3 separate regions of the Homo sapiens genome follow, and all the other regions are linked to region 1. Evidence: promoter capture Hi-C in 16 types of primary human blood cells and fetal thymus (Javierre and others, 2016). All regions are on one chromosome and are shown on one strand. Each heading gives the region's core, a stretch centred on a gene start or on the middle of the fragment in contact. The rest is flanking DNA. Distances are from core to core; before and after follow the strand shown. Region 1 holds the start of ING3 (inhibitor of growth family member 3). Region 2 overlaps POT1-AS1 (POT1 antisense RNA 1). Region 3 overlaps CAPZA2 (capping actin protein of muscle Z-line subunit alpha 2).

Region 1 (2,700 bases), core at 74-2,573:
GTGGCTTCCATGCCACCACTTTTTATTATGTGCCACCTGAAACTTACCGGAAAAATATACTCATAAGCAAAGGGTATAGAAGTGGGTGTGTGGTCATGGGCAGAGAAGCCAGGAGCAGTGAAAAGGACAGGTTCTTAGCTGCAGCAGGTGGTCCCTGAGCCACCTATTTATAGTCGTTGCTCTATGAAAGAGCAAAGTTAATTTGGGGAAAAAGTCCTAGAGACTACCAAGCTATCACTGAAAGAAAAAGAAATGTTCATTAACTGCTAAAATTTTTAGTACAGCACATAAGAAACTTTACAGTGAAATCTAATTTCTGTCACTCATTTTAACCAAGAAAATGACGATTCTGTTACAATTTAAAATGTATCTAATGTGTAACTAAGTTTTCAAAATTTGACATTTGCCATGGTCTCTAAAGAGCTATATATAACCTCTGCTTCTGTGCTTTCCACTCTTGAAAAACTGTGAATAGGATGAACTTTAAAATAAGTATAAATGCTGAAATCTAAGTTCGATACGAAAAGGCTCAAGACGACATCTCAACATTTATTATGCTGACGTCCATTGAAACATAGATAACTATGTCAATGACGGTAGAGAAATATTTTTTGCACAATCCCACATTCTAGAAAGGAATACACGTGTCCCAATGCCTCCTGCTCTTGCAAAAGCCAGAAAAAAGTAGCATGGGAGGGAAGGGGAAGGCGAGATTCAGGGCTGCCAGTTCTTTTTGACAACTCCTTATGCACTAGCGGAGTGAGCCAGAGGACAGTGAAAGAGCACTAGGCGCTAGCAGTGATGACAAGCAAGTCTGGCACTGAACGCGCGCAGCGAACAGGAGTAGTAGACGCGCCGACTTACTCTGCACCTGCAGGTCCATCTCGCGCATTTCCGTGAAGCGGTCCCGCAGATCCATAGGAAGCTGCTCAATCACTGTCAAAGGGAGAGTCCGTCAGAGGGGCGGGGCCAACGGCGAAATACGCGCTTACGTCACTGCGCGCGTGCGTCAGGGGGGTCGAGGGGGCCGGCAGCCCACAACGAGGCTGCCAGTTACCGTGAGAAAGAAACATCCCCCGCCGCCCCCTCCCTCCCGCCATCTCGCTGCCCGTCCACTCGCGCTCTTGCCCGCCCGCACGTCCCACTGGCGGCCGCCGCCAGCGCCGCGCACTCACTTTCCAGATAGTCTTCTAGGTACAACATCGCGGCCCTTAGAGCTGAGGGAACAAGGGGGTCCAGGGGTTTATTTGTGTCACTCGCTGTCGCCGGAGTTTTGTCCCCTCCAATATGGCGCCTCCGCTAGCAGCACCCGCTCGACTCCGGCAAAAAAAAAAAAAGAAAAAAAAAAAAACCACTTTGGCGCCTGAGGCGCTTGCCTCACTGCCGCCCGGAGCTGCTATTGGTTGGTTCAAGCAATGACGTAGCCCGGCCGGTGTTCGCCCCCGTGCCTCTGTGGGAAATGTAGTTTTCTTCCTCCTCAGCGAGGGTTGGCGCGCTGGCGGCTCCCCTCGCAGAAACTACGAATACCGGGCGCCATTGCAAACAGTGCGTAACAGAATCCGAAATGCGGTGCCTCTGTTTATTTGTTGATTTTTGCACAGAGAATGGCGGGAGTTGTATGCACCTGCATAACACAACTAGGAACAACTTTTCACCTGTTCTTTGATGTGATTCCATGCCCCGGCGTTTGTGAGTTATGGGTTTCAAGAAGTGCCAGGCAAATAGCAAAGGTTCTAAACACTAGAATAATCAGCAAAGTTCGGGGAATTTGGATTGCTTAAAATAGAACTCTCTACTGGAATTTATCCTCATTATTCACTCTAAAATATAAAAGAGACACCTGGTTGGCTTACGTGTAATTTTAAAATAGTTTATACTGAGACTATGGAGTGAATATACATTTCCCAGATTAAAAGATGCACAAATAGTGTCAGTAGCCACTTATATATTCTAGTTTGCGGTCCATCTAATCGTCATTCTAATGTAATTGATCTATACATACAATCTGCATCCGCAAATAATAATAATAATAATCTTCATCATCACAGTGAGCAGCCATGAATTACGGATGCAGCCTTGATTTCTAATAGGCTGTTAATAGCAGTAACTTTATGTTGAGTAAATAGTCCATATTCGAGGTTGGTTGTCTTCGGCGTTCTTTAGTTTCTACTTTTCGACCTCTCCCAGCAAATGTTTTCCTGTGATATATTTAGTACGTCCCTACTCAGTTTCTTTTTAAATTGTTTTTTATTAAAAACTCTTGCACTCAATAAATGCTAGATATTGTTATTTTCCACTCTTCTTAACTTTTCGATTTTCTGGGGAAATTGTCATTAGTTCATAATTTATTGTTCATTTTCTGTTTTTCAAATTGCAGTTGAAACTGTGTGTGTGTGTTTCTTGCTTTCCTTCTCCATTACATACTCTTGTACTCAAGGTTTTCACTGCTCTTAAGCAGGAAACTTTCCTGTCGTGAATGATGAATCATGATGAATCTCAACGGAACCTTACTTCGATCCTAATAAGAATTAGAATTTTATAGTTTCTAGTTAAGTTTTTCATTACTTCCATCGAAAATCAAGTACTTTCGATCTTTTTCTCCCTTCTTTTTTTCCTCCTTTCTTCGTTTCCCATCCTTCCTTCTTCTGGCTGCTTTTAACATCTCTTTGACATCTTTTTGCAGTTTTGTAGTGATCTAAG
Region 2 (2,700 bases), core at 147-2,646, 4.0 Mb before region 1:
TTTTAGTAGAGATGGGGATTCACCATGTTGGCCAGGCTGGTCTTGAACTCCTGACCTCAGGTAATCCACCCGCCTCGGTCTCCCAAAGTGCTGGGATTATAGGCGAGAGCCACCATACCTGGCCCAACAATTCTTAAAATGAGTAGCAACTGAAGGAAAGACAATTTTTTAACTGATGAGGATTTTTTTTTTTTTTTTTTGAGACGGAGTCTCGCACTGTTTCCCGGGCTGGAGTGCAATGGTGTGATCTCAGCTCACTGCAACCTCCACCTCCTGGGTTCAAGTGATTGTCCTGTCTCAGCCTCCCGAGTAGCTGGGATTACAGGTGCCCGCCACCACACCTGGCTAATTTTTTGTATTTTCTGTAGAGACAGGTTTTCACTATGTTGGCCAGGTTGGTCTCGAACTCCTGATCTTGTGATCTGCCTGGTTCGGCGTCCCAAAGTGCTGGGATTACAGGTGTGAGCCACTGTGCCTGGCCTAGGATATTTTAAATAATAAATTAAAAAGATTTATTATTAAAGTACAAAAGCTTTTGAGAGACCTCTTCAATGGATAATAATGTTTTCTCAATTTGTGGTACCTAATATTATGTTTTAAAAATATCTTTATTTTGCTTCCTAGTATGCACTGAGTGATTACATGCTTTACCATTTAAATTTGTAACTTAAACATACATTTGAGAAAAAATTATGTTTGATTTATCTCCTGGCTCAGCTACATAACAATATAAAAATTTGATGCTTTATTGAAATAGGATTTTACAAATCCATTTAGATGTTCATTAGGATTGGGCAGAAAGAATATTAGACACAAGGAAATGAACTCCAACTAATGTAGCCTAGCTATTATTCCTAGAAAATCTCAGGAGTAAGAAGATGATATTGTCAGGCTCTAGAGATGCAACCTGATGATAACAGCTTGCAGGACAGATGGACTGCAAACAGGAATGGGTTAATCACCCCACAATTAATGCAAAGGAAATGAATTTGAAGTGCTGGACATGTTAGGCAATTCAATTTTACATGTAGACATTAACAAGTAAATAGTAAAGGATAATATGAAAATGCTATGAGAGGGAAGATGTGTCAGAAATTTGCAGACTAATTTCTTTCACGTTTGATTTATTTATGATAACTATACTGAATCCTTATATTTATACATCACTTAAAAATTACCCATTTTGCTTTTAGTCTTCATTATTTATTAATGAAAATTTAATTTTAACTTTTCTTAAAATGAACATTTTTACATTGCAGATTTTATATAAAAACTTTTTTCATTGAACCTTTAAAAGTCATAACTTCTAATAACAATTACATTAATTGTTAGCCTTAGAGTAGCTTTTTTATGCTGCTTCAACAGGCATAGAACAATAGTAATGGATTGTTTTGGCATTAATATGTCTTCATTGCCTTATTCAGTTGATTCAATCTCTTTTTTTCCTCTCTTATTATCTTAAATTGTACTGTATATTCATGAGCAATTTTCTTCATTTGTGGAAATTAATTGCTAATGTGAGGGAAAGCATTACAGGCTCTGGAGCCTCTGCCACTAATTGGGAGATTATGCAGAAGAAATAAGATTGGAAGTTACTTGAACGTGTAGGAAGTGTTGTGTCCCACAGGAACTGAGAACAACCACTTTAACAAAATAAAAGGACTTACGTATACCTCTATTAGACATCTTCATCACATTCTACAGAACATGGATACTTACAGGCTAAACAGATTATGAGAAATTTTAAAAGATTCAGTTGGTAGAAGGTAAGAGGAAAACTAGGACCATGTTGTAGCACAAAGAATGTTTTCAAAAATATGAGACTAAAAATGTCCTTTTGGGTTAGCAATAAAGAGTTCTTCAGTGGTTTTTCTAAGGGCAGTTTAAGTGTAATGGGGTGGTGGGGGGCAGGGGTGGGATGGAGGGGTGGAAGTCAGAAGTAAGATAAACAGTTTTCCTCAGCATTTGTTCATTCAACAAATATTTAGTACCCACAGAGGAGTGTGAGACTGACTGGGCAACATAGTGAGAACTCGTCTCCACAAAATTTTTTTAAAAAATTAGCCGGGTGTGGTGGCCTGTGCCTGTAGTCCCAGCTACTTAGAAGGCTGAGGCCAGAGGATAGCTTGAGCCCAGGAGTTCCAGGCTGCAGCGAGCTATGATCTCGCCACTGCACTTCAGCCTGGGCGACAGAGCAAGAGCCTGGGAGAATGTGTTTAAATGGTGACGGGAAAGAATGAATAAAAGAAGGAAAGCTTAAAATACATTAAGAGAAAATATATTGATGATGATGGAAGGGAGATGAAATTGGTCAGGGTCCAAAGCCCATGTGGAGGGCTTCACATAAAAAGGAGGAATAGTATTTCTCAGCCGGATGCAGCCAGAGATGGAAGGAGGATAGCATCTAAACCTTCCCTATAGTTTTCCTCAAATGGACAGCTCCTGAGTTCATGCACTTGTCACCCCGGCTTCTGCGTGGGATATAACTACAGGGATGGGGAGGGGAAACAGGAGATGGGCTAATACTGAATGCTTCCTGTTGATTAAAAAGGCACTTCAAACATAGCTGGCTGGGCACAGTGGCTCATGTCTGTAATCCCAGCACTTTGGGAGGCCAAGGTGGGCGGATCACAAGGTCAGGAGTTCGAGACCAGCCTGGCCAAAATGGGAAACCCCGTCTCTACTAAACAAATACAAAAA
Region 3 (2,764 bases), core at 172-2,671, 4.1 Mb after region 1:
GAACTTCATTGTGTTCTTCAGCTAAATTTATTTCCCATTCACCCAGTGGCCAAAGGAGAAAAGGTTATTAAACTTCATAGTAGTATCCTCAAAAAGCAATTGTGTATGATTTTAAAAAACAAAACTATTATTCTAGATTGATTTCTAAAATGCTTCCTATCAGTAACATAACACCTTTAAATGTGTTAATAATAAGCTTTATTCTAAAATCATCAAGACAAAAATTTAGAACCTAACACTATTTGCTTGGTATTACTTTTTAAAAAAGGGCTAGGAATCATGGCTCATGCCCGTAATCCCAGCACTTTAGGATGCCCAAGTGGGAGGATCGTTTGAGCCAGGAGTGTGAGACCACCCTGGACAACATCGTGAGACCTTGTCTCTACAAAAAATTTTTTTAAATTTGCTGGGTGTCCTGGCACACCTGCCTGTACTCCCAGCTACTTGGGGAGACTGAGGTGAGAGGACTGCTTGAGCCCAGGAAGTTGAGGCTGCAGTGAGCCATGATCACCACTGCACTCCAGCCTGGGTGGACAGAGTGAGACCCTGTCTAAGGAAGAATCAACGTTTCTCCTTTTTCAAAATAAGCTGTCAACAAATTAAAAATGAAGAGACAAAACCAGAAGAGGTTCTTATCAATTTTGTTTAAGAAAGCATAATGTCTGCTGGGCATGGTGGCTCACGCCTGTAATCCCAGCACTTTGGGAGGCCGAGGGGGGTGGATCACCTGAGGTCAGGAGTTCAAGACCAGCCTGGGCAACATAGCGAAACCCCGTCTCTACTAAAAATACAAAAATTAGCTGGGCATGGTGGCATGTGCCAGTTATCCCAGCTACTCGGGAGGCTGAGGCAGAAGAATCGCTTCAGCCCCGGAGGCAGAGGTTGCAGTGAGCCAAGATTGCACCACTGCACTCCAGCCTGCGTGACAGAGTGGGACTCTGTATCAAAAAAAAAAAAAAAAAAAAAAAAAAGAAGAGAGCGCATAATGTCACAAGAACATCAACGTTGGACTAAGACAAACTTTAAATACTACCTTCATCTTGACCGTCCTTGGGTGAACTACTTAAAGCTTTTGAACCTCACTCTACTCATCTGTGAAATGGTAATAGAACTACCTCTTACAACAACAAATTAAGTAATGAATGTATCTAACTGAGCCAAGCATATATAAAGTATGGTACTAGACACATCTTAACAGCTTCTCTTCCTTAAATTTGCAATCTAGAATGGAAATTTCAAAAACTTAAAAGTATTCAAAACTTAATATTTTTTTTTAGAGATGAGGTCTCGCTATGTTACCAGGCTGGTCTACAACTCCTGGGCTCAAGCGATCCTCCACACCTTGGCATCCAGAGTAGTTGGCATTACAGGTGCAAACCACCGTGCCCAGCTTAAGAGCTTATTTTTGAAAATTACCAATAAGGCAGTAGAACGAGTAATATTAAAATATCACTTTTAAGTCCTCTCTGTTTTCTGATCCCATACTGGACACATCCTCCTCCCCCAAAATGAAAATAACCTTTAGATATCTCAAGTGACAAGAACGTTAAAATTTCACTTTACTGGTTACTTGAATTTAACCTAAAGGTTTTGTCAGTTTTTAAATTAGTAAATATAGTGATAAAATTTATATGTAAAATATCTACATAATATTCTTACAAAACATCAAAAATCAAATTAGAATTTTCATTCATTTAACCATAAAACATTTTGCTACTAGGCGGCACAGGCTTTAAGACACACAACCTCCTCATTCCTCTTTATGAAGCTTAGTGCCCTGAGAGTGCCAGATAATAAGGCATCTTGTTATCTCATTTTTAAAAAACTTTTTTATTTTAGGCCTTTACAACACATGGCAGGTCTATATTAACTCCCACACCGAGTAGTCTCTCTTCAGCTAGATTTCTAGCCACTTGAGCTACTAATCATCACTTAAGAATGGTAGAATAAAAACACGACAATCTCTTTTTAAGCTTTTTAGCACGCCTCAATTTTAAATATGTTTGTGCACTCCTGTACACTTTCAGTCACCTAAATAAAATAGGATTATTTATCAAGATTATACATTGAATACTGTACAGCAACTTTTGTGGATACGGGGATCTGCCTACTGGGTCTGTGGGCTATGGAGACGTTGCTCGCCCCCATTTTGTTGTTGTATTATCACTTTCACCGAAGAACACAAGAGAAAAAAAGATTTCCGAAAATAAAGATGAGGCTGACTTCTGACCATTCACATTGGGAATGGGACAGAACCTTCTATTTCGGTGCAAGAACACAGCATATAAAAACATCTAGAGCAGAGGGTCCTAAATGAAAATATCCTCAGACTTACATGAAGATTTCTTAAACACCACAACATACCTAAATGTACCTGTATTTTCCTGCACTGGCTTTGAAATTTAAAAATGAAGCACTCTTTAACGAAGAGTGGACATTTCCAACCCTGCAACTAACTCATTCCTATGTTCTGTCAGTTACTTCTAAGGGTCCTTTCCGAGAAACAGTCAAAATTAGCAGGGTTCTCCCCTACCCCACCACCCTCGGGAATGGGACGTTCCCAAAAGCCAAACGAAAGGGGCGAATTAAGAGAGCAGCAGTTCAATGAATTATTCCATTACTCGTTTTAAATATCTGAGAACTTAAGTCGTTCATCTGGTTCCATTGCTGTCACAGCATCTAATATACAGTAAAAGGAGTTGCACATTTTCCCCTCTTCGGAAGAAGTCCTAGCAGGAAAGTGAGGTGCCACCAAATCGACCCC

Evidence for each region. Contacts are between HindIII fragments. The CHiCAGO score rates a contact against its expected background, and 5 or more counts as called.
Region 2: a contact is called between a fragment that was not itself captured here and the fragment with the promoter of ING3 in region 1, in 1 of 17 cell types (non-activated CD4 T cells). The highest score is 10.0, in non-activated CD4 T cells.
Region 3: a fragment that was not itself captured here is called in contact with the fragment with the promoter of ING3 in region 1 in 1 of 17 cell types (non-activated CD4 T cells); the score reaches 6.9 in non-activated CD4 T cells.

The regions. Positions count from the first base shown.
Region 1 is chr7:120,949,400-120,952,099 of GRCh38, reverse strand. It overlaps ING3 (inhibitor of growth family member 3), which reads right to left and starts at 1,323. Exons shown (of 12, transcript NM_019071.3): 1 at 1,176-1,323; 2 at 865-936. The coding sequence starts at 1,203. RefSeq lists an enhancer at 701-780. The HindIII fragment of the contact is 9,487 bases long and covers 1-2,700 here.
Region 2 is chr7:124,930,838-124,933,537 of GRCh38, reverse strand. All of the region lies in intron 1 of POT1-AS1 (POT1 antisense RNA 1), which reads right to left. Among named protein-coding and RNA genes, the nearest start is that of POT1-AS1, 2.3 kb to the right of the region's middle. The HindIII fragment of the contact is 1,723 bases long and covers 535-2,257 here.
Region 3 is chr7:116,863,385-116,866,148 of GRCh38, reverse strand. The region is part of intron 1 of CAPZA2 (capping actin protein of muscle Z-line subunit alpha 2); the gene reads right to left. Among named protein-coding and RNA genes, the nearest start is that of CAPZA2, 2.2 kb to the right of the region's middle. The HindIII fragment of the contact is 699 bases long and covers 1,072-1,770 here.